Regions from separate parts of the Homo sapiens genome. Here regions 1, 3 and 4 are each linked to region 2. Evidence: promoter capture Hi-C in 16 types of primary human blood cells and fetal thymus (Javierre and others, 2016). All regions are on one chromosome and are shown on one strand. Each heading gives the region's core, a stretch centred on a gene start or on the middle of the fragment in contact. The rest is flanking DNA. Distances are from core to core; before and after follow the strand shown.

Region 1 (5,760 bases), core at 1,438-3,937, 410 kb after region 2:
TTTTTTGAGATGGAGTCTCACTCTGTTGCCCAGGCTGGAGTGTAGTGGCGCGATCTCAGCTCACTGCAAGCTCCGCCTCCCGGGTTTGCACCATTCTCCTGCCTCAGCCTCCTGAGTAGATGGGACTGCAGGCGCCCGCCATCATGCCTGGCTAATTTTTTTGTATTTTTAGTAGAGACAGGTTTTCACCATGTTAGCCAGGATGGCCTCAATCTCCTGATCTGTGATCCGCCTGCCTTGGCCTCCCAAAGTGCTGGGATTACAGGTGTGAGCCACCGTGACCAGCTATTTTTTATATTTTGAGACAGATTCTCAGACTATTGCCCGGGCTGGAGTGCGACGGTGTGATCTCGGCTCACTGCAACCTCCGCCTCCTGGGTTCAAGTAATTCTCCTGCCTCAGCCTCCCGAGTAGCTGGGATTACAGGCGGATGCCATCATGCCCAGCTAATTTTTGTATTTTTTGTACAAACAGAGTTTCACCATGTTGGCCAGCCTGGTCTTGAACTTCTGCCCTCGTGATCCGCCCACCTCTGCCTCCCAAAGTGCCGTAATTACAGGCATGAGCCACCGTGCCTGGCTAGGCTGGTGTCTTATTTCCGCTGAGACTCATCATGGTCGAGGAGGAGCATGTAGGGTTGGGTGGGAGGAGAGCTGGCAGATGGGAAAACCAGATCTGTTTTCTGGTCCTTTCTGTGACTTAAGTTGAGCTTGTTTTGAAGTGTTTAGAATTCCCAAGGCATCAGATACACCCATCTTCAAGTGTAAAAATAAATAAATGGTTCAGAGCCACCCGCGATGTTATCTGAGGGAGGGACTGTCTCGTCCTGCCTCCATCAGGACAATGGGAAATGGGCCATGTTCAGGATTTTCCAGGCCTGCCTGTGCTAGAACTTGGCAGCCGAGGACAACGGTCCCAGAGAAGGGGACACATTGGCAACCTCCCTGAGTCTTGGGAGGGCTCAGCCTCACTAGAGGCTGCTCTGCAACTGAGTGGACCTTTGTGGAGGGCCTCCTCTTTCCTGCTCATCACCCAGCGTTGGGAATAGGGTCCCTCTGGTCAGCTGCGAAAGGCCACAGGGAATCCTGGCCTGGTCCCACATGGACTTGGGTGGCTGGATTAGCCCCAGGTTTGGATAGGGCATGGTGGAGAGGGGAGTGGAGAGGGTTTGGGGCCCAGGAGCAGTCTCACAGCAGGGGCTCCCTTTTGAGCACCTCCTCACTTGGAGCACTTCCTTCATGTCCCTGTGCTGGGCACCTGCATCCAAACAGTGCATGCTCTATTAACGTTCACTGCACGCCATCGTCCTCCTCAGCTCCTCCTTGAGCCAGTGCTCATGCTGAAATGAGCACTGGAGTTGCAGAAGAATGTGTCCTCGCTCCAAGGCAACCAGCTGCACTTCTCTCGGGGCCTGTTTTAACTACGGAAGCATCTGCTCCAGCCTTCCCGCCAGGGAGTATTCCCCATGCCTTGGCCTCTGTACTGGCTGAGGCTGTGTCATGTGACCTAAAGAAAGCCATGATCCTTTTGATCATGGATCACTTGAAGAGAACTTGTGTTCCTTCAGACCTAAGGAACTGTAGAGATATATTTTTGTGGTGGAGGGGGGATAGAGTCTCACTCTGTTGCCCAGGCTAGAGTGCATTGGCGTGACATAGCTCTTTGTAGCCTAGAATCCCTGGGCTAGAACAATCCTCCCGCCTCAGCCTCCCAAGTAGCTGGGACCACAGGTGTCTATCACCATACCTGGCTAATTTTATTTTTTTGTAGAGATGGGATCTTGTTATGTTGCCCAGGCTGGTCTTGAACTCCTAGCTTTAAGCAGTCCTCCCACCTTGGCATCCAAAGTGCTGGAATTACAGGTGTGAGCCACTGCACCTGTCTGTGCTGTATATTTGTAATGACACTTGTTAATACTTAACCTGAAAATAATTTACCAATAATTAACCAGTAAACCAAGTTTTATTACTCATGTGGAAGATGTGGGAGGTGGTCAGTTAGTTGCTGGTGTGGTGTCCCATGGCTGTCCTAGGCACTGGCCTCCATCCCAAGGCCCTCATGGTGAAGCACAGCTACTGGAGCCATGGCATCTATCTTCCAGGTGGTAGATGGGAGGAAGGCAGGAAAGATGAAGGGCCTGGCTCCGGGCTGAGTCGGCTTGCCCTGAATGCCTTCTTATGGTCTGGACACTTCTGCTTACAGCTCATTAGCCAAAGCTTTGTCACTCTAAGAAAGCTCGGGGACCCTCTTGGTTGATGGACTTGCCCTGAGTGAAAGTGGAGTTCTGTATTCAAGAATGGGGGAGAGAGTGGATTTGGGTGCAGCTGGCAATCTCCAGTCTGTACTTCATTAGGCGGAACATTGCTGTTTGAGATCTTGTTATTCTGCCTTCTTCCTTTGCAGTGTGATGTGGAGGAGCACAGCACAGCTCTGTATGGGTGGTGGTATCTGCGTAGTAATTCATGGAAGGCGTCTCCAGCAATACAGCCTGGACATCTACATGTGGGATTTTGTTCAGCCTTCCAAGAACCTCATTTTGCACGTGGGGAAACTGAGGCTCAGAGAGGTTGAGGAATTTGTCTAGGGCTGCAGGCCATCAGCGGCGAGGCAGGGTCCCAGGGAGACCTGTGCTCTCCCAATATTCTATTGACAGTCAAGCAAAGAAGACCGCTGTCTTTGTTTCCAAGTGCCACAATGCAACAAGGCTGAATGGTGCCGGAGGTCTCCTGGGGAAGCCTAAAGCCTGAGGAGAAGGGCCTGGGACACTGTCCAGCTGGCCTTGTCATCCTTGTCCTGGAGATCTGAGGTATTTGAGCTCTGGAACAAACCCTGTGGCTGGGTCGCTGTGAGGGCCCCAGGCTGCCATCTGGCCACCCTCAGGGGCACATCCCTCCTTCCTTAGGCCTTGTGTACTCACTGTTCCCTCTGCTGTCCCCATCCCTCCCTTTGCCTGCTGGTCTCATTAACTCTTCCGCCACCTCCTCCCAGGTTTGCTTGAAGAGATGGTGTTAGAGCTCCAGAACGGCGATCTTGCTGTCCTTCTACTGTGCCCTGGACTTTCTCGATACCACTGGTCACAGATGTAATTGTGTTTGTGGTTTTTTGGCGAGGGGGGTGATTATTTAACGCTCATCCTCTTCACTTGACCGTAAGCTTCTGGAAGGCAGGGACATGTCTTTTTTTTTCTTTCTTTGAGATGGAGTCCCGCTCTGTCGCCAGGTTAGAGTGCAGTGGCGCGATCTTGGCTCACTACAACCTCCGCCTCCTGGGTTCAAGTGATTCTCCTACCTCAGCCTCCTAAGTAGCTGGGATTACAGGCACGTGCCACCACGCCCAGCTAATCTTTGTATTTTTAGTAGAGACGGGGTTTCACCGTGTTGGCCAGGATGGTCTCGATCTCTGGACCTCGTAATCCGCCCTCCTCAGCCTCCCAAAGTGCTGGGATTACAGGCGTGAGCCACTGCGCCCAGCCAGGGACGTGTCTTTAATCCCCAGCCTGTATCTGGCACGGAGGATGTGCTGAGTAACTATCAGAAGGAAGCACCATCCCCCGCCCTCCCCTTAGAGGGCCTCTGTTACGTGGTCACCTCACAGACTGTGCTTCAGCCCAGCCCTGGGGTGCTTGGGAGAATAGGCGGAACAGCTACGTGGTCAGCGGCCATCCCTTGCAAGTAACAGTCCCCCTCCTAATGACCCTCACGCTGCATGGCCCGTTACAGTGGTTCAGTAAGTTTTTATATCCATGCCTTACTTAATTCTCACACCGCCCTCCAAGGTGGGTTTGAACTAATCCGTCTGTGTGTTGGATGGAGATGTCACAGGATGGAAAGGCCTAGTGTGGGCCAAGCCTCCCTGGAAGGGTCCCCTTCAGGCCTGCACCCTTGGTGGGGATTCTGTGCTCTCCTTTTCCCGCTGCCCTGTCCCTGCAGGGTGCTGCTATCTGGACTGAGAGCATCTTCCCTGAGGCCCACGTGAGCTCCTGCTTGCTTCTGGCTCACTTCTTGCTTTGGCCTTTTCCTCCAGACCTGGTTTGGGCCTTGCCATTCTCTTTTCAGACCCAAGAAGCACAGAGAGTGTTTGTCTTTTACCTCGGCTCTGCCCCTCATGGAGCAGTGGGCACCTCCTTTATTCAGCACATGGAAGCTGCAGGCAAGGCAGAAATCGGCCTTTCAGTTTTCCCAGCAAAGCAGAAAGCCCTGTTCCTGGCTGGATGCCTGGGACCTGCCTCCTGGGGACAGAGGAGCCCCTCTGAGGCCAGCTGGCGTCCTGACGCCATGGCTGCCACGTGGGTAAGCACCTCCTGGGGATGCAGCACCAAGCCAGCCCAGCTCTGAGAAATGTGTCTGGGCAGCAGCTGCTGCAGAGCCCCTGCCACCAGGGTGTATTGGTGGAGCATCCTTCCAGGGGCATTGCCAACCTTGGGCACTCCCAGGCAGGCCCCTGGCATTTCCACAGCCCACCAGGAGAGATGGCCCTTGGAGGACTGCTAGTGTCTCTGCCTTCTCAAAGAGTTGTCTCGGGTTACCGTGGAGCAGGTGGCCCAGCTGAGCTGTGCTGTGAGGGAACGCTGCTGAGCTGAGTTCTTAGGGAGGGTTTTGATTGCAAGTCCCTCCAGAATCCGGTAGAGGCATCCCCTTGTAGTCATATTAGTGAACATGCACCAGGACCCCTCGTTGGGAATCAGAAGGCACTCCATGGCAGAGGCGTCAATACCTGTTGTTTTCCTCCCTGTTGGAAGTTGCCTAATAAAGCATAATAATAGCAGTTTCCATTTATTTAGCGTCATTGTGTGCTAGGCCCAGCGTTTCTGCTGCAGGCGTTTCACACACAGTCTCTCTTCAACCTCACTCCCACCCTGAGAGGTAGGCATGATCATCTCTGTTTACAGAGGAAGAAACCGAGGCTCAGCTCGCTCAGCTGGAAAGTGGTGGGTCTTGGGGGTCTGGGTTTGAATTAAGCTGATGCAGAGCGGGCCCCCCCGCCTTTTTTTTTTTTTTTTTTTTTTAATATTGATGACGTCTTGCCATGTTGTCCAGGCTGGTTTCGAACTCCTGGGCTCAAGTAATCCTCCCGTCTCGGCCTCCCCGAGTGCTGGAATTACAGGCCTGAGCCACCACACCTGGCCCAGAGCCCATGTTCTTGACTGCTTGTTTCATTTAAAGCCTTCCACCGGGTGGCAAGCACATCCCTGGGGTGGGGCCTTGCCAGAACAACAAACTCAGGGCCTCCCCAGGAGCGACTCCAAGACTTGCAGGCCACTCTTGATCCTTCTGGTTGTGAAGTCCTGTCCCAGCCCTGCACTTGGCTGATACGCACCCCTTAACTTCTAGTGGGGGTTCCTCTAGCACAGCAGTTCTTGAAATGTGATCTGCAGTCTCCTGGGGGCTTCCTGAGACCACTCGGGGGGCTAGGATCAGAACTGTTTTAATAATAACACGGCCATGATTTGTTACCATGCCTCTTTGTTTGTGATGGCTTTCACATTGATGGTGTAGGAGCAGTGCGGAAACAAGCTGTGGGGCCTGCACTGACTCAAGACTGGCACCACACTGTGCTGGTCTTGTTGTAATTGAGTCTTCACCACCACACACACAGTACACACACACACACACACACACCAGTGTTGCATCAGAAAAAGCAGTAAAAATCAACTTTATTAAGTCCTGACCCATGAGTCCACAGCTTTTTAAGATCCTTTGTGACGAAATGAGGCACACATGAAGTATGTCAAATGGAGTTTGATGCTGTCGTGAGGAAAAG
Region 2 (6,034 bases), core at 2,846-5,345:
GCATGCTGAGCCCGGAGTAAGAGCCCACCTGTGGGGAAAGGTATGGGGAACGAGAAAGGAGAGGGTGTCCAGGCATAGGCAGACCAGGGGGCGACAGCAAGGACGCACAAGTTCCCTGGGAACCCCTCTTGGGGTATGGGGAAGGGGTCTGTGTGCTGAGCCAGCTCCATGTTGAGTTCAGGCTTCTGCGGGTGCAAGGTGACTCCCCGCACACCTGTGTTCTGAAACCCCAGCTCCTCTCTAACACCTGCTCCCAATATCAGCTGGCTGGAGGAAGCATCCCTTCGGGGCCCTGAGATCTAGGCAAGGAAGTCACTTTTGGACGAGGGAGGGCATTGTCATGCCCTTACCTGCCAATGAGAAATGCCCACCTGGGGGCGGCACCCGAAACTGAGCCAGGCAGAGCCGAGTTGGGGAAGGACTGGGTTTGCTGGGGAGGTCTGTTCAGGGCTGTCTGCCTGAGCAGCTGGGAGGCTGCACACACTGAGGCCTCAGACCACCCAGGGAAGCTTGTCCAGATTTCAGATTCTTAGGCCCCTCCCTCTTCAGACCCCCCCAATCAGGATGTCAAGGGTCCCAGGGCCCCAGAATATGCCTTTTACAAACTCCTGTAGAGATTCTAAGGTGCAACAATGTTAGAACCACCGCCTCTCCCAGGGTCTTTCTCCCCCATATGTCCCCAGACCCCTTCAAGGAGTTCACAATTTGGCCGGCGCAGGGACTGACGCCTGCAATCCCAGCACTTTGGGAGGCTGACGCAGGTGGATTGCTTGAGCCTGTAGGAGTTCAAGACCACCCTGGGCAACATAGTAAGAGCCCATCTCTACAAAGAATTTTAAAAATTAGCCAGGCGGCCGGGTGCAGTGACTCACACCTGTAATCCCAGAACTTTGGGAGACCAAGGCAGGCAGGTCATCTGAGGTCAAGAGTTTGAGCCGTCTCTACTAAAAATACAAAATTTAGTTGGCCATGGTGGCACGTGCCTGTGATCTCAGCTACTCGGGAGGCTGAGGCAGGAGAATCCCTTGAACCAGGGAGTCGGAGGTTGCAGTGAGCCGAGATTGCACCACTGCACTCCAGCCCGGTGGTAGAGTGAGACTCCTTCTAAAAAAAATAAATTAAAGGCCGGGCGTGGTGGCTCACGCCTGTAATCCTAGCACTTTGGGAGGCCGAGGTGGGTGGATCACAAGTTCAGGAGATCAAGACCATCCTGGCTAACATGGTGAAACCCCGTCTCTCCTAAAAAATACAAAAAATTAGCCAGGCGTTGTGGCGGGCGCCTGTAGTCCCAGCTACTTGGGAGGCTGAGGCAGGATAATGGCATGAACCCAGGAAGCGGAGCTTGCAGTGAGCCGAGATCATGCCACTGCACTCCATCCTGGGCGACAGAGCAAGACTCTGTCTCAAAAAAAATTAAATAATTAATTAATTAATTAAAAAAATTTAAAAAGGCCAGGCACAGTGGCTCACAGCTGTAATCCCAGCACTTTGGGAGGCTGAGGCAGGCAGATCACAAGGTCAGGAGTTCAAGACCAGCTTGGCCAACATGGCAAAACTCTGTCTCTACTAAAAATACAAAAATTAGCAGGGCGTGGTGGCAGCAGGAGAGTTGCTTGAATCCAGGAGGCAGAGGTTGCAGTGAGCCGAGAGTGTGTCATTGCACTCCAGCCTGGGCGACAAGAGCCAGACTGTCAAAAAAAAAATAATAATTAATTAATTTAAAAAAAATTAGCCAGGCATGGTGGTGCACACCTGTGGTCCCAGCTACTTGAGAGGGAGGCTGAGAAGAGACAACGGCTTCCGTCTGGGAGGTCAAGGAAGGCTGCAGTGAGCCATGATCACGCCACTGCACTCCAGCCGGAGCAACACAGCAAGACCCTATCTCCAAAAAAAAAGAAAGAAAAAGAAAAGTTAACGTGTTTTTGTTTTTGTTTTTGTTTTTTGACGAAGTCTCACTCTGTCGCCCAGGCTGGAGTGCAGTGGCACGATCTCAGCTCACTGTGACCTCCCAGGCTGGAGTGCAGTGGCGTGATATGAGCTCACTGCAACCTCCCCTTCCCAGTTTCAAGAGATTCTCCTGCCTCAGCTTCCCAAGTAGCTGGGACTACAGGCAGGCGCCACCACGCCCAGCTAATTTTTTATTTTTAGGAGAGACGGGGTTTCACCATGTTGGTCAGGCTGGTCTTGAACTCCTGACCTCAGGTGATCCCCCTGCCTCGACCTCTCAAAGTACTGGGATTACAGGAGTGAGCCACCGCGCCCATCCAAGTTAACATTTTTAATATGTGTCCCCTGCCCCGGGACCTGAAAGCTCCCAAAGAGAAAGCCCCTTTTGTGTTGTTCTTTTCCCTTTTCTCATCCGTGTACAACAAGCAGAGCCAGGCACACTGAGGCTGTGAGAGTGATGGGAAACATGTGTTGAATGAGTAAATGACTCCACTGAGCAATACATCCTCCCCCAGAAAAATGCACATTTGGACACACACATTTTGAAAGCAACTTTAGGGCTGGGTGCAGTGGCTCACACCTGAAATCCCAGCACTTTGGGAGGCCAAGGTGGGAGGACTGCTTGAGCCCAGGAATTCAAGACCAGCTTGGGCAACACAGCGAGACCCCATCTCTACAAAAAACATATATAAATATAAAGGTTTTAAAAATTAGCCAGGCGTGGTGGTGGACACCTGTGGATCCAGCTACTCGGGAAGCTGAGGTGGGAGGATTGCTTGAGCCCCAAAAGTCAAGGCTGCAGTGAGCTATGATTGTGCCAATGCACTCCAGCCTGGGCAACTGAGTCTCAAAGAAGAAAGAAGAAAGAAAGCAAGAAAGCAAGAAAGGAAAGAGAGAGGAAGGAAAGAAGGAAGGCAGGCAGGCAGGCACAACTTTAGGAGGAATCACACCTCTATTTACGCCTAGTGGTCCATTATTGGAACGTGACGCCTGTGGGAGTTATCTCCTACTGCTCAAGGTCACTGCCAAGGTATGATTTATCAATTCAAAAAATTGCAACCTCAGGCATAAATGGGTTAAGCCCACCCATAGAAGCCCCATTAAGAATAAGGTTGGCTGGGCACGGTGGCTAATATCTGTAATCCCAGCACTTTGGGAGGCTGTAGGCCGGCAGATCACTTGAGCACAGGAGTTCAAGACCAGCCTGGGCAACATGGTGAAACTCTGCCTCTACAAAAATTTTTAAAAATTAGCCAGGTGTGGTGGTGTGTGCCATCCGGGCTTCAGGTCAGATTAGGTTTCTGTCTAAGGGCAGCCTCCTCCACTGGCACACAGTCTGGGCCAGGACATGCTGGCAGAATTGTGCAACGTCGTTGTTCTGAGCCGCAATCGAGCAGCTTTTATGACCAGCTATGAAGCGCTCTTCTAGTGCCAGGGCCTGGAGTTATTGAAGTTTCAAAGGAGTTTTTGTCCACCCGAGATGGCAAGCGGAGAGCAGATTCAGGCCAGGGCACTGCGCTCAGCGCTTTGCGTGCATTACCTGCAGGGACATCCCCACAGGCCTTTCGGATGGGGTGGTGGTTATCACCGTTTGACAAAGAAGTAAACTGTGGCTGGGAGCAGTAAAACACCTTGCCCAGGAGTGTCAGCCAACCTGGGGGTGGCAGGGCTTGAACTCAGGCCGGCGCCCTCGGCAGTTCAGCCCCCTTCCCTCAATTGCCACCATCTGAGTGCAATTCGCTAGCTACTAGGGCACATGAATCCGTGCGGGTCTCTGCCGCACCTGTCTTGCGGGGCCCAGCTGGGTGTCCGCCAAAGCACCAGGAGCGCCGAGTTCCGCGGTAGCGCAGAACCAGGTGAAGGCCTCGGCCAGAGGCGCGCCGGGCCCGAGGAGGGTGGGGCTGCGAGCGCTCGCCCCGGCGGCCTTTGCGCCCCAGTGCCTGCCCGGCCTCCGGAGTCCCCCGGCTGGGGGTGGGCGGCGTCCGGCCAAGACCCAGTGTCCCCACCCCCGCGTCCAAGCCCCGCCCGCGCGGTGGCCCCTCCTCGGGAAGGTAAGCACCACCTTCTCGGGGAGCGGCCCGCAGAGCCAGTGGCCGGCGGGCGCCCCGCCCCCAGCGAGTAGGGACCCGGAGCCACTGCCGCGCCGCAGTCCGGGCTCCCCGCGCCGCCGCTCGCTCACCTGCGCTCCCGCCCGCCCCTCGGTGCGCGCCCGGCCCGCCAGCCGCCGCCGCCCGCACCCCGAGCGCCACCATGAACTCGCTCTTCAGGAAGAGAAACAAAGGCAAATACAGCCCCACTGTGCAGACCCGGAGGTGAGGAGGCGCCCACAGCTCCGCTCCGGGACGCTCTTGCCCCTGTGGGCGCACAGGACCTGGAAGACCTCCCGGGCAGTGTAGGAATGGGGGGTACGGGGGTCCAGGAACCGGGAACTGAACCCGGAGTGCGGGACTCTCGGGAACGCGGGACCGAGGCCACCCTGAAGCTGGGAAGCGCCGCCAGGTGGGAAGGGACTGGCTGGGGTCCCCGAGGGGGAGCATAACACAGGGGACTCCGGGAGCCCAGGGAGCATTGCCTTGAGGGCCTAGGGCACGGGCAGCTGAGCTGGGGGTACAGGGCACCCCCGTGTCCCAGGGTCGCTCTTGCGCAGAGGGTCGCACAGGACCGGGAATAGTCACCTGGATGAGGGGGCGGAGTTTTTGGAGGACCGGGCACTCAAGGCGGGGTCGCTGCGGGCGACCCAGGAAGCTCCGTCCAGGGGGCGCCCTGAGGCAGGGAAACTGAGCTGGCGTCGGGGGGCGCTCTCCAGCGCCTCTGAGACCGCGCAAGTGTTCCTGGCGTCGGGGAGGCGAGGGATGGGTGTCCGGAGGGGGCGGGCCACCCGCCGCTGCACTTCCCGGCACCTGCCACCCTGCGCGCCAGAGCCGCGCCCGGAGGCCCTGGGGGGTGTGGGGTCGGGTCGAGGGGCACAGGGGGAGGCACCCCCTTACCTCCCCACCCTCTGGGTTCTGAGCGGAGGTTGGGCGGCTTCGGGGCCTCCTCTTCGAAGCTCGGTTTCGCAGGGGTGTGGCTCCCTGCCCCCACCCCAGCCCCGAAACTGGCGGCGTCTCTGAGCCGCGGGTTCCCAGGGCGGCCTGGGAGGGGAATGGCATGTCTTGATGTGTTTGCAGGGAGAAGCAGCCCACGTCCCTTTTGATAAGCCTAATGTGTTCACTTAATAACCGGTTTAGGGGAGCCTGGTGGAGATGCTGAGATTGACGGAGGGGGTGGGAATCCAGCCCCTGCCTTATATCCCCACTTCGGAAAATAGAGTGGGGGCTCTGGGCTAGCAAGGACCATTTTGCCAGCTTCTCGGACAAGAGGCTTCAGGCAGGTGAGGGGCCCGCACATTACATGGCTCTCCTGTCTGGGAGTTCTGCCCCCAAGCTGCTCTCACTGGGAGCCCCCACTGTGCCCTCAAGCAGCTCCTCACTTCTTCCCTAGGCAAGGAGAGGCCTCTGGGCCCAGGGCTCCCACTCAACCCCTGCAGTCCGGCCTAGGCCGACCAGTCGGACAGGTGCAGGCGGCGGGGCCCTAGCACGCTGGAGTGCGACACTCCATTCCGGGGCCTTCCAGCCCTTTCAGAAACCCCCCTGCCCTGTGATCCCACCCACCCGTATCTCCGTTTGGGCTCTTTCAAGCTCAGAGGCATTACCCGCCTTTAGAGATTTCCCCACCCCTCCCCTATCTTTCACAACCCCAGAGACTGGGCAGGGCCTGCACACCCCTCCTCCATGGCTGCGTCCAGCTGGCACTCAGACCCAACCAGAGGCCCGTCCAGTCCCTGCACTGTTCCCTGGGGCATTGCACAATTGGATGCTCCGTGCCAGCCGTGGAGAACCGTTCTGTCCTCTCCACCCCAGAGACTAGACCCATCCAGTCCTTCACACATGCAGACACCCACATACCAGTGGTGGGGCCAGGCCTCGCCCCGCCCTCTGCCTCCTCCCAGCCTCCCTCCTTCGTGCAGCTCTCCATCCTGAAGGCCCCAGCTTGGACCTAACAAAAGGTTCTAATGAACCCAGACAAGCTGGGAGGGGTGCGGGCTTTC
Region 3 (5,563 bases), core at 1,650-4,149, 300 kb after region 2:
GCTGGGCACCTCCCCTCCTGCAGCCGGGGGACCACGGGGACAGGAGTCAGTGGTGTCATCGCCAGTGACAATGGGCACTGTTCACACACAAAAAACCACACCCAAGGGGCTTCCCCAGCAGAATGGCTGAAAATCCTCCTGTGGGCTCACAGAGCCCGACAGACGCCACAGGGTCCCAAGGTTGTCCTGGAAATCCCGGCTATGTGGAACCAACACACTCAAGGACCCAGGGCCTCAGGGCAGTCCTCGAACACCACTAAAACAAAGGCATCCTTCTCCCCTGGTTTACTGTCACCCCCAGGGGGACTGGAGCCCAGCAGTTCACTGCCTCCCTGCCCGAGGGATTCGGACTCTGGGTGGCTTGCAGGTGTCCGGGCAACCTGCACAGGGAGACAACAGCCACAGAAATGAAAACTGCAAAATCCCTTCCGTGGGAGGCCTCGAGGCATTCCCCGAACAGCCTCAATGCTCTCCACACATGCCTCCAGGCAGGAGGATACATACGTTTGTCATCTCTACAGCTGAGAAAAACCAAAACCACAAGGCCACAGGTCAGAGGCTGTCTTGGGGATGGCCAGGGGAGGGGGACAGCCCTGTCCCTTCCATACAGGCCACAGAGTGAGCCAAGAAGCCTTCTGGGCCCGTCTTGTGTCTCTTGCACCTTGTCAATATCTTGTGGTACACAGTGTGCAATGAACGCCACCAGACATCTGCGAGAGGAAAACAGGGACATTCCGAATCACTGAAACAAGCCAACCTTGGAAGGGCGGGAGGCCCGGGACGCGGCAAGGCCTCCCAAGAACGCGGGCGAAAGGCGAAGCACAGGCCATCTGAGTGCACAGACGGACTCAACGCAGCAGAGGAGCCGCAGCAAACACCGTCGGAGCCGCGGAGCGTGGAGGGCAGATGAGTAAAGTAGGGTCTTGCTATCAAGCCTGAAAGCACCTGCCCCGCCTGCCTGTGCCTGAACTCCACGCTCACAGTTTTCAGGGAGAAGTCTGACCCATGTTTATCAGACCAGAGTTCAGGGCCCACCGGGTCAGAGGTTCGTGATCTGGACCCTTGAAATGCATTTGCCTCCAAACCCACCAACCCTGGTACACCCCTAAGAGAAAGAGGCCGGGCTCAGATCATGTCAGAAAGGCCTTTCCTCCACACCCCCAATACGGGGACCATGTGTGGATCCACAGGCAGGCGTTCCTCATCCTCCCGCACCGAGGGGGCAGACGCTGTGCATCTGGGGACAGGATGCCCAAGTCATAGGCAGGCCTTGGAGACAACTGTCCTGCCTGTTCCATCCTAGGTAGCCCAGGCTTCCTCCTGACCTTCCAGATGCCCCCAGCCTAATGATGCCCAATGGTGAAGGTTGCTGCACCCTGACCTGAAGGCCATGGCCAAGCTCCCCGCTCTGCAGACCAGTGATTCCACATGCCCTGCCCACCCCGCCCCACCTTCCCGGCCTGGGCTATTCCCTCCTTGGGATGCCGCGGTGAGGCCAGCCTGGACCACCACGCAGGCCAACTGCCAGCTCGTGGTCAACGCTCCCGCCGCCATTCTCCTCATAGTGTCACTGCTGCTTTATCTCGTGTACCTGTTGGTTCCCTCTGTCCTCCCCAGCCCAAAAGTAGGCATCATCCTCAACTGTCCACGGCCCCGCATCCTCATGACCTCCCCGCTCCATGCCTAAGAGCTGGATGAACACTCACCTAATGAATGAAAGCAGATGCTGTTGTTACTGGTGTTTGACAGTCAGGGAAACTGGCCCGGTGAGGCTGAGTGACCTGCTCAGGTCACACAACCAGTGAGAGACATTCTCACTGGGACCCCTGGGCAGACTCCAGAGCCTGCACTGTCAGCCATGGGAAGTAAGCCAGGATGTGAATGAAGACACCCAGCATGTCTGCCTCCTAAGAAACACAGCGGCCCAGGGACCCGGGACACCAGGGGTGGACTTCACTGGGCTGCCTCAGCCATCGTTCCCACCCGAGGAAGGGGGAGTGGGAAGGCCACGAGGTGTCTGCAGGGGCTCCGAACAGCTCACTGATTCCACCTGCTGAAAATTCTCCTCGTGTTCTAACAGGACAGGTGTTCCTGCTTACCAGTCTCACAAAATCAGCTGCTGCATTGCCAATAAACCCCAGGTGGGCCAGACCTGCACAAGATCAGGTCCCAGGATGCCCCCACCAGGTGGGAGGCCAGAGGGGGTGGCAGCCCCACAGCCTTCGAGTGCTCTGGGGGTCCCACCCAGCTGTATCACCCACGCATTGATCCCCCTGGGCCTACCATGCTTCCCTGCCTACTACCAGTCCCCCACCCAGCTGGGGAAGTCAACATGGGCTGAGATATTTATTTATTTTTTTTTTTGAGACGGACTCTCGCTCTGTCACCCAGGCTGGAGTGCAGTGGTACGATCACGGCTCACTGCAACCTCTGCCTCCCGGGTTCAGGTGATTCTCCTGCCTCAGCCTTCCAAATAGCTGAGATTACAGGCACCCGCCACCACGCCCAGCAATTTTCTGTATTTTTAGTAGAGACGGAGTTTCACCATGTTGGTCAGGCTGGTCTCAAACTCCTGACCTCGTAATCCACCCGCCTCGGCCTCCCAAAGTGCTGGGATTACAGGGAGCCACCACACCCAACCTTGATTTCTTTAACTGCAAACTTGAGATGAGAGGGCCACCCTAAACTCAGGACGTCCTGAGGATAAAAAATGCCAATTAACACAAAGGAGCCTCCGGCAGGTGTGAACACACTGGCTAGAAGTCCCTTTCGGACCTCCCATATGTAAACGTGATACCATATTAAATACAGGGCTCTGGCTTCCAGTGCGGAACACAAAGCTGAGAACAACTCTGACTAAGCAAAGACGCTGGGGCACGGAGGGGGCATAAGCTGTAGTCACCTTTTTTGTTGGGGGTGTGTCCTCCCCTTTTCTGGAAACAGCCTCCACCACCCTCAGGGTGGCCCCCACCCCCTAGACAGGGCTGGTTGGCCCTAAGGTGGACACTGGCACACTGGGCCATCCGAATTCTCCCTCCTGTGGAATGGGACCAGGGACGACGGCAGCACTTGGCCCTTGACCAGCCTGGTGGGTGGCGATGGCCTCACACACGCCGGAGCAGCTGGGGCGCTCTGCAGGACTGCAGGATGGCGCTGAGGCTGGAGCCGAACAGAGGCTCTGGGTTCCCGCAGCTTCCACTTGTCCGTTTCCCCTGAGGTTACTGGGACTTCCCTCGGAGCCTTCAATACACTCCATTTCTTGCCTGGGCTAGCTTCCATAAACGGCACTAAGGCGGCCAATTTCCAAAGAATTAAAACCATAATAAAAAGCACTTAGGAAAGAGCTCCTATAAACCAGTAAGAAAAAAAGATAACTCAATTTTTTTTTTGTTTTTTTCTTTGAGACAGTCTCACTCTGTCGCTCAGGCTGGAGTGCAATGGCGCGATCTTGGCTCACTGTAACCTCCATCTCCCAGGTTCAAGCGATTCTCCTGCCTCAGCCTCCCCAGGAGCTAGGATTACAGGCACCCAACACCATGCCCAGCTAATTTTTGAATTTTTAGTAGAGACGGGGTTTCACCATGTTGGCCGGGCTGGTCTTCAACTCCTGACCTGAGGTGATCTGCCCGCCTCAGCCTCCCAAAGTGCTAGAATTACAGGTGTGAGCCACTGAACCTGGCCACTCAATTTTTTTTTTTTTTTTTTTTTTTGAGATGGAGTCTTGCTCTGTCGCCCGGGCTGGCGTGCAGTGGCGCAATCTTGACTCACTGCAAGCTCCACCTCCCAGGTTCACGCCATTCTCCTGCCTCAGCCTCCCAAGTAGCTGGGACTACAGGCGCACGCCACCGTGCCCTGCTAATTGTTTGTATTTTTAGTAGAGACGGGGTTTTACCATGTTAGCCAGGATGGTCTCGATCTCCTGACCTTGTGATCTGCCCGTCTCGGCCTCCCAAAGTGCTGGGATTACAGGTGTGAGCCACTGAGCCTGGCCACTCAATTGTTTTAATGTGTAAAAGACTTCACAAGGCACTTCAACAGCAGGACAAGAAACAGATGGCCAATTCGCATAGAGAAAGGCGCTCAACCTCACTGGTCATCAGGGAAAAGTACAATGAGAAATTCAAGGTGGAATTGAAAAAAAATTAAAAATAGCACACACCCCTCACCCTACCTAGTGCCAGTATGAATGCAGAGCGACCAACACCCTTGTTCTTGCCTGCAGACATGCAAATTCGTTCACTCCTAAAAGTTTAAAATCTACGAAGGCTGAATGCACCCAACAGCCCCAACAAGTCCACTCCAGGCATAAAAACGCACCCAAAGAGATCAGGCTCAAGGGCACCACCGCCAGACACAAGGATGTCCCCAGCTCCCCCGGAGCCCGTCCACGGGCAGCACTGGGACGCTGGAAGGTCCCACAGCAGACGCCAGATCACTCACTGCTCACAAACCCCGCCCGGCCATTGCATCCCATCTCATCCTGAGGTGGAGCAAGAAGAGCGCCTCCTTCCAGTTCTTTCAAGCTCAAACCCAAGCAGAAGTCACCCAGGGAGGAAGTCAGGGGGGTGGTTCCCAGGGAAGAAGGGGGAGGCAGGTTGTTCAGAAGGGGACAATAGGGGGCCTCTGGGGGCCGGTACTGCTCTATTTTTCTCAACATGTTCATTTTGTGATCATTTATCAAACTGCACATTAATGAGCTGTACATTTCCTAAATGTATGCTAGCCTTGGCCAGGCCCAGTGGCTCATGCCTGTAATCCCAGCACTTGCAGAGGCCGAGGCAGGTGGATCACCTGAGGTCAAGAGTTCAAGACCAGCCTGACCAACATGGTGAAACCCTGTCTCTACTTAAAAAAAAAAAACAGAAAATACAAAAGTTAGCTGAGGCCGGGCACGGTAGTCACATCTGTAATCCCAGCACTTCTGGAGGCTGAGGCAGGCAGATCACAAGGTCAGGAGTTCAAGACCAGCCTGGCCAACATGGTGAAACCACATCTCCACTAAATATACAAAAAAAAAAAAAAAAAAATTAGCTGGGCGTGGTAGTGGGCACCTGTAATCCCAGCTACTCGGGAGGCTTTGGCGGGAGAGTCGCTTAAACCTGGGAGGTGGAGGTTGCAGTGAGCCAATATTGCGCCACTGCACACCAGCCTGGATGACAGTGCGAGACTCTGTCTCAAAAAAAAAGAAAAAAAAGTTAGCTGGGTGTGGTGGCCCACACCTGTAATCCCAGCTACTCCAGAGGCTGAAGGAGGATTGCTCGAACCCAGGAGGCAGAGGTTGCAGTGAGCTAAGATCATGCCACTACACTCCAGCCTGGGCGACAGAGCAAGACTCTGTCTCGAAAAAAAGAAAAAAAAAAGAATATGTTAGCCTCAATTTATTATTTTTTATTTGACTTATTAATTTATTTAGAGACAGGGTCTCACTCTGTCACCCAGGGTGGAGTGCAGTGGCGCAATCTTGGCTCACTGTGAACTCCACCTCCTGGTTTCAAGAGATTCTCCCACCTCAGCCACCTGAGCAGCTGGGATTACAGGTGTGCACCACCACACTTGGCTATTT
Region 4 (5,598 bases), core at 2,907-5,406, 490 kb after region 2:
GCCGGGCATGGTGGCTCACGCCTGTAATCCCAACACTTTGGGAGGCCAAGGTGGGTGGATCACTAGGTCAGGAGATTGAGGCCACTCTGGCTAACACGGTGAAACCCCATCTCTACTAAAAATACAAAAAATTAGCCGGGCATGGTGGCAGGCACCTGTAATCCCAGCTACTCGGGAGGCTGAGGCAGGAGAATCGCTTGAACCTGGGAAGCGGAGGTTGCAGTGAGCCGAGATGGCGCCACTGCACTCCAGCCTGGGGGACACAGCGAGACTCCATCTCAAAAAAAAAGAAGTTGACCATTCTACTATGTCCACTTTACAGACAGATAACTCGGGCAGGAACCACCTGACTTACAGGGAGCAGTAACCTGCCCAAGCCACAGAGCTCCAAGGGCAGTGCCACCGCAGGACCAGGCGGGCTTGGCCACAGCCTAGGGGGCACTTACTTTGGAACTCGTATCTTGATGTGGATGTAGTGGTCTCCGTAGCCGTAGCTGTTAATCCGGGGGATGCCTTTCCCACCCATCCGAATCTTCTGGTCTGTCTGAGTCCCAGGGGGGATCTATAAAGAAAGAAAATCTGTGGTTTCCCCTGGTCCCCAGTTGCTCAAATAAAAAGTTTTCACTACATGAAGACAATCTTGATAGGAATTCCTTGAAAAGAACTACCACTGGCTCACGCTCCCATCACTTTGGGAGGTCGAGGCAGGCTGATCACGAGGTCAGGAGTTCAAGACCTGCCTGGCCAACATGATGAAACCCCGTCTCTACTAAAAATACAAAAATCAGCAGGGCATGGTAACGTGCACCTGTAATCTCAGCTACTCAGGAGGCTGAGGTAGGAGAATTGCTTGAACCCGGGAGGCGGAGGTTGCAGTGAGCCAAGATTGTGCCATTGCACTCCAGCTCTGGCTGACAGAGCAAGACTCTGTCTCGGCAGAGCGGTGGTGGAGGGGGTGGGTAAAAAAAAAGGCCGGGCGCAGTGGCTCATGCCTGTAATCCCAGCACTTTGGGGGGCTGAGGCAGGCAGATCACGAGGTCAGGTGATTGAGACCTTCCTGGCCAACATGGTGAAACCCCATCGCTACTAAAATACAAAAAATTAGCCAGGCATGGTGGCGCGTGCTTGTAGGCCCAGGTACTCAGGAGGCTGAGGTGGGAATCGCTTGAACCTGGGAGGCGGAGATTGCCACGAGCCAAGATCGCGCTACTGCACTCCAGCCTGGCGACAGAGCAAGACTCTGTCTCAAAAAAAAAAAAAAAAAAAAAAAAGAACTGCCACTGGGCTGGGCGCAGTGGCTCACGCCTTTTAATCCCAGCACTTTGGGAGGCCGAGGCGGGTGAACTGCCTGAGATCAGGAGTTGAAGACCAGCCTGGGAAATACGGTGAAACCCTGTCTCTACTAAAATACAAAAAATTAGCCAGGTGTGGTGGCGTGCACCTGACGACAAAGCGAGACTCCATCTCAAAAAAAAAAAAAGAACCACCACTTGGGTTTCTGGGCCAAGCCCGCCCACAAGCACATGGAAATGAGCTAAGTTGGGTCTGCCCAGAGCAGAGCCTGTGACTAGGATGAGGGGGCAAGAGTTTGGGCAAGTGAGCCCAGGAAGCAGGAGTGAGGGAGCAAAGCAGGAAAAGCCAATACAGGGTGCGTGGCTGAGGTCGCTCCCTGGCCCTTGGAACCACAGGACCCTGGAGAAGCCAGGGAATAGCCCCCAGATGGAGGAGAAAGCCTTGGCCCAAAATGCCCACCTCCTTCATGGAGGTTACCCCAAGGTTCCCCACAAAGAAGCTGGAGAAGGTTCTGAGGCGAATACAGAGAATGATGTGGCCTGGAGGTGGGAAGAGCTGGAGGGGCAGGTCAAGAGAGAGGTGGGGGACAGGTGCTGGCAGCACACAGGCAGCCATCACTGTGGCAAAAGGGATATGCACCGCCCGAGTCTTCTGCTCTTGGAGCCAGACACTGGACAGAAGCAAGTGCAGAGAGCACAACCCAGGGTGAACCCTTCTGTGTCCTGAATGCGCCCAGTTCCCAGGCCCCGCTAACCAGTGTGGGAGTGATGCCAGCCAGGAACTGCTTCCCATGCGATTATAGACTCAAGGCCTGTGGCTTGTGGTCCACACTCAAGGAGCAGCCTAAAATTCCTCATGTCCTCCCCTGTGAGTGCCCCCCCACATGCTGGTCACTCATGGGTTCCAGGCCACTGGTCAGTTCTTTTCCATTTCAGAAAAAGAGCAATAAAGTACAGGGGTGACAAAGGTGTTCTCACACCCTCTTACCGTCACGTTGATCGTCTCGTACAGGCCCTGGGCTCTGGCTGTACCCCCAAGAAGAGCCTGAGCTATAGAAATAAAGAGGTCGGAGTGGATGTCTGCGCCGTCCCTCCGGAACACAGGGCTTTTCTGCACCTAAGGCCAAACATGACAGATGCATGTGAAGATAAGTCCACTGCAGACTAAACACCAGCTGCATGCCTGGCCAGGCCCAAGCTCAGACCTGACAAACTACACACCCCTTCCATACATAAAGTGCAGTGTTGAGGGAAAGAACTGTCCTTCCAACAAGGAGACACCATCCCAGGCCCAGGAATGACATGTTCTACATATTTCAACACTGCAATGTTCTACACACTTGAAATGCCGAAATGGAAGCGTGCCTGGATTTCCTCAGTCTCAGATCAAGCCATTCAATCGTGAAGGGAAACAAAAATGTAAAACTGGCTTTTGATTTTTTTTTTTTAATCTTACTTTAGCCAGGCACAGTGGCACACACCTGTAATCCCAGCACTTTGGGAGGCCAAGGTGAGTGGATCACCTGAGGTCAGGAGTTTGAGACCAGACTGACCAACATGGTGAAACCTTGTCTCTACTAAAAATACAAAAATTAACCAGGTGTGGTGGCGGGCCCCTGTAATCCCAGCTACTCAGGAGGCTGAGGCAGAAGATCCACTTGAACCTGGGAGATGAAGTTTGCACTGAACAGAGATCACACCACTGCACTCCAGCCTGAGCAACAGAGCGAGACTCCACCTCAAAAAAAAAAAAAAAAAAATCTTACTTTATTAGAAAGTATAGGCCAGCCGTGGTGGCTCACGCTTGTAATCCCAGCACTTTGGAAGGCTAAGGTGGGTGGATCACCTGAGGTCAGGAATTCGAGACCAGCCTGCCAACATGGTGAAACCCCATCTCTACTAAAAATACAAAAATTACCTGGGTGTAGTGGCGCATGCCTGTAGTCCCAGCTACTCAGGAGGCTGAGGCAAGAGAATCGCTTGAACCTGGGAGGTGGAGGTTGCAGTGAGCTGAGATCATGCCACTGCACTCCAGACTGGGCAACAGAGCAAGACTCTCTTTCCAGAAAAAAAAAAGAAAAAAAAGGGAAGAGTAAATAATATAACAAGCATGTCATACCCACAACCCAGTGGAGGTAACAAAATATCACAGGCCGGGCGCAGTGGCTCATACCTGTAATCCCAGCACTTTGGGAGGCCAAGGTGGGTGGATCATTTGAGCCCTGGGGTTTGAGACCACCCTGGGCAACATGGTGAAACCTCATCTTTACTAAAGATACAAAAGTCAGCCGGGCCTGGTGGCGTGTGCCTGTAGTCCCAGCTACTCAGGAGGCTGAGGTGGGAGGATCACCTGAGCCCAGGGAGTCTGAGGCTACAGTGAGCCAAGACTGCCCCACTGCATTTCATCCTAGGCAACAAAGCAATACCCCACCTCAAAAAATAAAGTAAAATAAAATAAAACATCATAAACACCGGTGAGTCTTGCCCTCCTCAGCTAACCACAACCCTGACTTTAACATTTATCATTCCTACAAGCTTCTACTTACTATGTATTTCCGTGTCCCTAAATAATACATAATGCCATCTCACAGGTTTTAAAACTTTACACAGATGGTCTCTGAGGCCCTACAGCCACTGGCAAGCTGCCTTCCATCCCTGCTGTCTGTACCTGCAACGCCTGGAGCATCCCTTGAGTTCAGCTCTCATTCTTTCCTTCCGACTGCCCTGCAGCAGCCTCTGACCACCACGGCTCACTGAGCCATTCTCTTGTTGGAGGAAGGCAGTGTCTTGCTACCATGGACAGGACTCTTGTGCACCCCTTTGTACCTATCGCCTGCTAGGCTTGTGTGGGTTTTTCTCAGGTGTACACATAGGAGGGCAATTGCCAGTAGAAGGCATTGTCTTCATTAATGTTTCCACCATCTCAGAAAACCAAGGTTTGCCCCTGTATACAGTATGTAAAATTGTAACTTTCACACTCACTGCCTCATCAACAATCTTATCATAAAAACACAAGATGTTTCCTGTATTTTTATGTGACCTGTATTTCTAACTTGTTAGCATGTTGAAGAAGTTGTCTTCTCTCCACACAAGGCACAGAATCTTGAAGGTAACAAACAGCTAAAAACCACATCTAGGTGGCCACTGTGCCCCTCAGAAACATGAATGGCGAGACATGTTCCTGTGAAGCTTTGATTACATGGGAGCAGCCTCAGCCACACCCACCCGAAGAGAGGAAAGGCCCAACAGAAGCTGTGCGGGGCAGGGCACCTACCCTGAACGTAATGAAAATTTCCCTTTTTCCCACAGGCATCCTCACGGTCTGGCCATCCTCGACTCCTACAAGGGACATTAGAAAGGGAGAAGTTAGGCAGGACGCGGTGGCTCACGCCTGTAATCCCAGCACTTTGGGAGGCCGAGGCGGGCAGATCATGACGTCAAGAGATCGAGACCATCCTGGCCAACATGGTGAAACCTGGTCTCTACTAAAAATTAACTGGGCGTGGTGGCACACGCCTGTAGTCCCAGCTACTCAGGAGGCTGAGGAAAGAGAATCGCTTGAACCCAGGAGGCGGAGGTTGCAGTGAGCCGAGATCACTCCACTACACGCCAGCCTGGCAACAGAGCGAGACTCCGTCTTAAAAAAAAAAAAAAAAAGAAAAGAAAAAGAAAAAAAAGAAAGGGAGCAGTTATTGTGAGACCTCCCACAGCACTTTCCACCCAAGATCCACTTGTAACCCACAGCTTCTTCCCCACTCCTGTTTCTTATTAACGAGGAACAATGTCATTATCTAAGAGGCACATGGGTAACCTTCCAGAGATGCAACACAGACACCTGATGACTGAGCACCTGCCTCAGGCTTGGTCTAGGCAGTACCTCAGGGAGTTCATGGTCTCACTGGGGTGATGGGTGTTAACCAAACGATAGCACTAATGCATAACTACAAACAGAGACATGCTCTTCAATGGAAATGCTCACAACTCTAGAGAAACAGACATCTAAACAACAGTAAAGCAGGCCACGCGCGGTGGCTCATGACTATAATCTCAGCACTTTGGGAAGCCGAGGCGGGTGGATCACGAGGTCAGGAGATCGAGACCATCCTGGCTAACACGATGAAACCCCGTCTCTACTAAAAATACAAAAAATTAGCTGGGTGTGGTGGCAGGTGCCTGTAGTCCCAGCTCCTTGGGAGGCTGAGGCAGGAGAATGGCATGAGCCTGGGAGGCAGAGCTTGCAGTGGGCCGAGATCGGGCCACTGCGCTCCAGCCTGGGTGACAGAGCGAGACTCCGTCTCAAAAAAGA

What was found. Contacts are between HindIII fragments. The CHiCAGO score rates a contact against its expected background, and 5 or more counts as called.
Region 1: a contact is called between a fragment that was not itself captured here and the fragment with the promoter of PPL in region 2, in 3 of 17 cell types (M1 macrophages, neutrophils and M2 macrophages). The highest score is 5.3, in M1 macrophages.
Region 3: a fragment that was not itself captured here is called in contact with the fragment with the promoter of PPL in region 2 in 1 of 17 cell types (erythroblasts); the score reaches 5.2 in erythroblasts.
Region 4: a contact is called between a fragment that was not itself captured here and the fragment with the promoter of PPL in region 2, in 1 of 17 cell types (neutrophils). The highest score is 5.1, in neutrophils.

Annotation. Positions count from the first base shown.
Region 1 is chr16:4,520,946-4,526,705 of GRCh38, reverse strand. All of the region lies in intron 1 of CDIP1 (cell death inducing p53 target 1), which reads left to right. Among named protein-coding and RNA genes, the nearest start is that of CDIP1, 15 kb to the left of the region's middle. RefSeq lists an enhancer at 3,934-4,798. The HindIII fragment of the contact is 937 bases long and covers 2,219-3,155 here.
Region 2 is chr16:4,935,209-4,941,242 of GRCh38, reverse strand. PPL (periplakin) reads left to right here and starts at 4,095. Exons shown (of 22, transcript NM_002705.5): 1 at 4,095-4,259. The coding sequence starts at 4,198. RefSeq lists a silencer at 3,753-4,152. The HindIII fragment of the contact is 7,029 bases long and covers 512-6,034 here.
Region 3 is chr16:4,635,266-4,640,828 of GRCh38, reverse strand. All of the region lies in intron 1 of MGRN1 (mahogunin ring finger 1), which reads right to left. Among named protein-coding and RNA genes, the nearest start is that of MGRN1, 13 kb to the right of the region's middle. RefSeq lists an enhancer at 2,592-3,556. The HindIII fragment of the contact is 5,962 bases long and covers 1-5,563 here.
Region 4 is chr16:4,443,697-4,449,294 of GRCh38, reverse strand. It overlaps DNAJA3 (DnaJ heat shock protein family (Hsp40) member A3), which reads right to left. Exons shown (of 12, transcript NM_005147.6): 7 at 4,567-4,631; 8 at 2,281-2,409; 9 at 447-562. Among named protein-coding and RNA genes, the nearest start is that of DNAJA3, 21 kb to the right of the region's middle. The HindIII fragment of the contact is 654 bases long and covers 3,830-4,483 here.